Linked DNA regions of Homo sapiens: region 2 is linked to region 1. Evidence: promoter capture Hi-C in human tissues and cell types (Jung and others, 2019). All regions are on one chromosome and are shown on one strand. Each heading gives the region's core, a stretch centred on a gene start or on the middle of the fragment in contact. The rest is flanking DNA. Distances are from core to core; before and after follow the strand shown.

Region 1 (3,193 bases), core at 185-2,684:
TTTTTGCAAGTCTGGCAGGAGTCAGCTTATACAAAGAGGGAGTGGGAAGCTGCCTTTTGCCTTTGTTTACCCTAGATTAGTCTAACAGTTGAGGTCCAGGGTTTTGCTGGAGTCTGCTTCTTAAGCCACTCTCTGTGGCACTGGTGCTTAGGAAACCCAGTTGTTAGTGTGAGCTGTGGCTCAATGAAGACACCTGTAGAAACCACCTGAAAGGACGGACTAAGAACCAGTGCTTTCCAAGTAATTGGTCTTGCCTCAGATCACTTCACTTGTGTCTCCTAAGCTCAGTTTGCCTGTAGGAGGCCTTGCTGCTGTGGAACCCATTGCTTTCTTCCAAGACCTTTCCCCCTGCACCTGCCTGAGCTACTCCAGGAGCTGCTTTCTCTTTGTGCGAAGAGGGCATGACTTGGTCTGCTCTTCCCCATCGCAAGGATTCTGTGCCAGAAATTGGGTCAGGTTCTACCATGGCTCCAGCAACTGTCCTTGGAGAATGAAAGCTTCCTCAATGGGCTTGAGCACCTGGGCACCCTTTCCCTCACCTCACCTGGGGAGAAGAGGTCGTCCTGAAGGTGATGAACAGGAGGGTACTGGCCAGCGAGGGGTCAGCGTGGCAAGGTGTGATAACTGCTGGCACTATCTGTGCATATGGCCTCTTCATCCTTGGCTCTTACGGCCCTACCTTTCCAGCCTGCTATCTGCCCACAGAAGAGGGTGGGACCCAAGAGTGGCGTTAAAGAGTCTATTCCAACTCCATCAACTGCAACTGCAGGCTTGTCTCTGCTTTCGGTTATTACCTGCGTGACAGCAATTGTCCTCACGGCCTTTTCGGGGACTGCTGCAGGTGAACCTGCACGTGGAGAATGCGCAGAATGTGGGCCTTGGGTCCTGGGCAGGGTCTAAGGATAGGCATGCATTAGTCCTTGGCGCCGTCAACGCCGGATCCCAGGCAGGAGATGCCAACGAGGGTGATGTGGGGTTTGCTCAAGCCTAGTCCTAGGACTGAGGGGATACTACATAAAGAGACCACTGACTGGGTCAATGCCCCAGATCCCAACGGCCATGGAAGCTGCCACTCCTGCTCCAATCAGCGCGGGCTCCAGTGCCTGCAAGAGGAGATAGCTGGACCCAGAGCGGCAAAGCACGGCTGGGAGCACAAAGCGTTAGGTCGTCTCGCCGGCCTCTCAGGGTTCACTACACTCCGCGTAGCCTCAAGCATCGGCCATGCGGGCCGCGCGGTGGCGCCAGAGCGCGCGGCCGGTCCCACTCACCCAGCACTCACAGGGTCACCTGGCACTGGGCGACGCAGCGCGATGAGGCAGGCCCGGCGCGGGTCTTGCTCCGCCCGCCGCAGAGTCACGTGGCAGGACGGCGCACCTTGATAACGCAATGCCCGGCCCCTCGGCGCCGCTCCCGCCCCGCCCCGCCGCCACCGCCGCGCCGAGTCCTTTTGTCCAAGATGGCGGCGCCGGGGGCGCTGCCTCCTCGGCCGCCGCCTCCGCCGCCGCCGCTGTGAGAAACCTACGGGCCGCCCGCCCGCCGCGCCAGCGCCATGAAGCGGCAGAGCGAGCGAGACTCTAGCCCGAGCGGGCGCGGCTCGTCATCGTCCGCCAAGCGTCCGCGGGAGCGCGAACGGGAGGCGGAGGCGGGCGGGCGGCGGGCGGCGCACAAGGCCTCTGGCGGCGCCAAGCACCCGGTTCCAGCGCGGGCCCGCGACAAACCCCGCGGCAGCGGAAGCGGCGGGGGCGGGCATCGCGACGGCCGCGGCACCGGGGACGCGAATCACCGCGCGAGTAGCGGGCGCTCCTCGGGCTCCGGCGCTGGCGGCGGGGGACGCGGCGGCAAGGCCTCGGGGGACCCGGGCGCCTCCGGCATGTCGCCCCGCGCGTCTCCTCTGCCGCCGCCTCCGCCACCGCCTGGGGCCGAGCCCGCGTGTCCCGGCTCATCCGCGGCCGCGCCTGAGTACAAGACGTTGCTCATCAGCAGCTTGAGCCCCGCGCTGCCCGCCGAGCACCTCGAGGACCGGCTCTTCCACCAGTTCAAGCGCTTCGGCGAGATCAGCCTCCGCCTGTCGCACACGCCTGAGCTGGGCCGTGTGGCCTACGTGAATTTCCGGCACCCACAGGACGCACGCGAGGCCCGCCAGCACGCCCTGGCCCGGCAGCTGCTGCTCTACGACCGCCCGCTCAAGGTAGAGCCCGTGTACCTGCGTGGCGGCGGCGGGAGCAGTCGGCGAAGTAGCAGCAGCAGCGCCGCCGCTTCCACGCCTCCCCCAGGGCCGCCCGCGCCCGCCGACCCGCTCGGCTACCTCCCGCTACACGGAGGCTACCAGTACAAGCAGCGCTCGCTGTCCCCCGTCGCTGCCCCGCCCCTGCGGGAGCCCCGTGCCCGTCACGCCGCCGCAGCCTTCGCCCTGGATGCCGCTGCTGCCGCCGCCGTGGGACTGTCCCGGGAGCGGGCCCTGGACTACTACGGGCTGTACGACGACCGTGGGCGCCCCTATGGCTACCCAGCTGTGTGTGAGGAGGACCTGATGCCCGAGGATGACCAGCGGGCCACGCGCAACCTCTTCATTGGTAACCTGGACCACAGCGTATCTGAGGTGGAGCTGCGAAGGGCCTTCGAGAAATATGGCATCATCGAGGAGGTGGTCATCAAGAGGCCTGCCCGTGGCCAGGGCGGTGCCTATGCCTTCCTCAAGTTCCAGAACCTGGACATGGCCCATAGGGCTAAGGTGGCCATGTCGGGCCGAGTGATTGGTCGCAACCCCATTAAGATAGGCTATGGCAAGGCCAACCCCACCACTCGTCTCTGGGTGGGTGGCCTGGGACCTAACACGTCACTGGCGGCTCTGGCCCGAGAGTTTGACCGCTTTGGGAGCATTCGGACCATTGATCACGTCAAAGGAGATAGCTTTGCCTATATTCAGTACGAGAGCTTGGACGCAGCCCAGGCCGCCTGTGCTAAAATGAGGGGTTTTCCCTTGGGTGGACCAGACCGCAGGCTCCGCGTGGATTTTGCCAAAGCAGAGGAGACTCGGTACCCCCAGCAGTACCAGCCCTCGCCACTCCCTGTGCATTATGAGCTGCTCACAGATGGATACACCCGGCACCGCAACCTGGACGCCGACCTGGTGCGGGACAGGACGCCCCCACACCTTCTGTACTCAGACCGAGACCGGACTTTTTTGGAAGGG
Region 2 (3,193 bases), core at 455-2,954, 470 kb before region 1:
TTTCTTTTGCTGTGTAGAAGCTCTTTAGTTTAATTAGATCCCATTTGTCTATTTTGGCTTTTATTGCCATTGCTTTTGGTGTTTTAGTCATGAAGTCCTTGCCCATGCCTACGACCTGAATGGTATTGCCTAGGTTTTCTTCTAGGGTTTTTATGGTTTTAGGTCTAACATTTAAGTCTTTAATCCTTCTTGAATTAATTTTCGTATAAAGTGTAAGGAAGGGATCCAGTTTCAGCTTTCTATGTATAGCTAGCCAGTTTTCCTAGCACCATTTATTAAATAGGGAATCCTTTCCCCATTTCTTGTTTTTGTCAGGTTTGTCAAGGATCAGATGGTTGTAGATGTGTGGTATTATTTCTGAGGGCTCTGTTCTGTTCCATTGGTCTATATCTCTGTTTGGTACCAGTACCATGCTGTTTTGGTTACTGCAGCCTTGTAGTATAGTTTGAAGTCAGGTAGTGTGATGCTTCCAGCTTTGTTCTTTTGGCTTAGGATTGTCTGGGCAATGCGGACTCTTTTTTGGTTCTATATGAACTTTAGTTTTTTCCAGTTCTGTGAAGAAAGTTATTGGTAGCTTGATGGGGATAGCATTGAATCTATAAATAACCTTGGGCACTATGGCCATTTTTACGATATGATTCTTCCTATCCATGAGCATGGAATGTTCTTCCATTTGTTTGTGTCCTCTTTTATTTCGTTGAGCAGTGGTTTGTAGTTCTCTTTGAAGAGGTCCTTCACATCCCTTGTAAGTTATATTCCTAGGTATTTTATTCTCTTTCAAGCAGTTGTGAATGGGAGTTCACTCATGATTTGGCTCTCTGTCTGTTACTGGTGTAGAGGAATGCTTGTGATTTTTGTACATTGATTTTGTATCCTGAGACTTTGCTGAAGTTGCTTATCATCTTAAGGGGATTTTGGGCTGAGATGATAGGGTTTTCTAACTATACAATCATGTCATCTGCAGACAGGGACAATTTGACTTCCTCTTTTCCTAATTAAATACCCTTTATTTCTTTCTCCTGCCTGATTGCCCTGACCAGAACTTCCAACACTATGTCGAATAGGAGTGGTGAGACAGGACATCCCTGTCTTGTGCCAGTTTTCAAAGGGAATGCTTCAGTTTTTGCCCATTCAGTAAGATATTGGCTGTGGGTTTGTCATAAATAGCTCTTATTATTTTGAGATACATCCAATCAATACCTAGTTTATTGAGAGTTTTTAGCATGAAGCGCTGTTGAATTTTGTCAAAGGCCTTTTCTGCATCTATTGAGATAGTCATGTGGTTTTTGTCTTTGGTTCTGTTTATATGATGGATTATGTTTATTGATTTGCATATGTTGAACCAGCCTTGCATCCCAGGGATGAACAACTTGATCATTGTGGATAAGCTTTTTGATGTGCTGCTGGATTCGGTTTGCCAGTATTTTATTGAGGATTTTTGCATCGATTTTCATCAGGGATATTGGTGTAAAATTTTCTTTTTTTGTTGTGCCTCTGCTAGGCTTTGGTATCAGGATGATGCTGGCCTCATAAAATGAATTAGAGAGGATTCCATCTTTTTCTGTTGAGTGGAATAGTTTCAGAAGGAATGGTACCAGCTCCTCTTTGTACCCCTGGTCGAATTTTGCTGTGAATCCGTCTGGTCCTGGACTTTTTTTGGTTGGTAGTCTATTAATTATTGCCTCAATTTCAGAGCCTATTATTGGTCTATTCAGGGATTCACCTTCTTCCTGGTTTAGTCTTGGGAGGGTGTATGTGTCTAGGAATTTATCCATTTCTTCTAGATTTTCTAGTTTATTTGTGTAGAGGTGTTTATAGTATTCTCTGATGGTAGTTTGTATTTCTGTGGGATTGGTGGTGTTATCCCCTTTATCATTTTTTATTGCATCTATTTGATTCTTCTCTCTTTTCTTCTTTATTAGTCTTGCTAACGGTCTGTCAATTTTGTTGATCTTTTCAGAAAACCAGCTCCTGTATTTATTGATTTTTTGAAGGGTTTTTTGTGTGTCTATCTCCTTCAGTTCTGCTCTGATCTTAGTTATTTCTTGCCTTCTGCTAGCTTTTGAATGCGTTTGCTCTTGCTTCTCTAGTTCTTTTAATTGTGATGTTAGGGTGTCAATTTTAGATCTTTCCTGCTTTCTCTTGTGGGCATTTAGTGCTATAAATTTCCCTCTACACACTGCTTTGAATGTGTCCCAGAGATTCTGGTATGTTATGTCTTTGTTCTCATTGGTTTCAAAGAACATCTTTATTTCTGCCTTTATTTTGTTATGTACCCAGTAGTCATTCAGGAGCAGGTTGTTCAGTTTTCATGTAGTTGAGCAGTTTAGAGTGAGTTTCTTAATCTTGAGTTCTAGTTTGATTGCACTGTGGTCTGAGAGACAGTTTGTTACAATTTCTGTTCTTTTACGTTTGCCTGAGGAGTGCTTTACTTCCAGTTATGTGGTCAGTTTTGGAATAAGTGTGATAAGTGATCTTTTCACACAGTCCCATATTTATTGGAGGCTTTGTTCATTTCTTTTTACTCTTTTTTCTCTAACTTCTCTTCTGCTTCATTTCATTCAGTTGATCTTCAGTCACTGATACCCTTTCTTCCACTTGATCAAATTGGCTGCTGAAGCTTGTGCATGTGTCACGTAGTTCTTGTGGCGTGGTTTTCAGCTCCATCAGGTTATTTAAGGTCTTCTCTATGCTGTTTATTCTAGTTAGCCATTCGTCTAATCTTTTTTCAAGGTTTTTAGCTTCTTTGCGATGCGTTTGAACATCCTCCTTTAGCTCGAAGAAGTTTGTTATTACTGATCGTCTCAAACCTTCTTCTCTCAACTCGTCAAAGTCATTCTCCATCCAGCTTTGTTCCGTTGCTAGCGAGGAGCTGCATTCCTTTGGTGGAGAAGAGGTGCTCTGATTTTTAGAATTTTCAGCTTTTCTGCTCTGGTTTCTTCCCATCTTGGTGGTTTTATCTGCCTTGGTCTTTGATGATGGTGACATACAGCTGGAGTTTTGGTGTGGATGTCCTTTCTGTTTGTTAGTTTTCCTTCCAGCAGTCAGGACCCTCAGCTGCAGGTCTGTTGGAGTTTGCTGGAGGTCCACTCCAGACCCTGTTTGCCTGGGTATCACCAGCGGAGGCTGCAGAACAGCAAATATTGCAGAACGGCAAATGTTGCTGCCCAATCCTTCCTCTGGAAGCTTCATC

Evidence for each region. Contacts are between HindIII fragments. The study calls those that stand out against the background at their distance.
Region 2: a contact is called between a fragment that was not itself captured here and the fragment with the promoter of RBM15B in region 1, in 1 of the 25 tissues and cell types used here (H1 embryonic stem cells).

Annotation. Positions count from the first base shown.
Region 1 is chr3:51,389,851-51,393,043 of GRCh38, forward strand. RBM15B (RNA binding motif protein 15B) reads left to right here and starts at 1,435. Exons shown (of 1, transcript NM_013286.5): 1 at 1,435-3,193. The coding sequence starts at 1,550. RefSeq lists enhancers at 909-958, 2,944-3,193 and silencers at 1,279-1,758, 1,799-1,878, 1,989-2,048. The HindIII fragment of the contact is 5,063 bases long and covers 1-3,193 here.
Region 2 is chr3:50,918,732-50,921,924 of GRCh38, forward strand. All of the region lies in intron 4 of DOCK3 (dedicator of cytokinesis 3), which reads left to right. Among named protein-coding and RNA genes, the nearest start is that of MIR4787, 250 kb to the left of the region's middle. The HindIII fragment of the contact is 3,259 bases long and covers 76-3,193 here.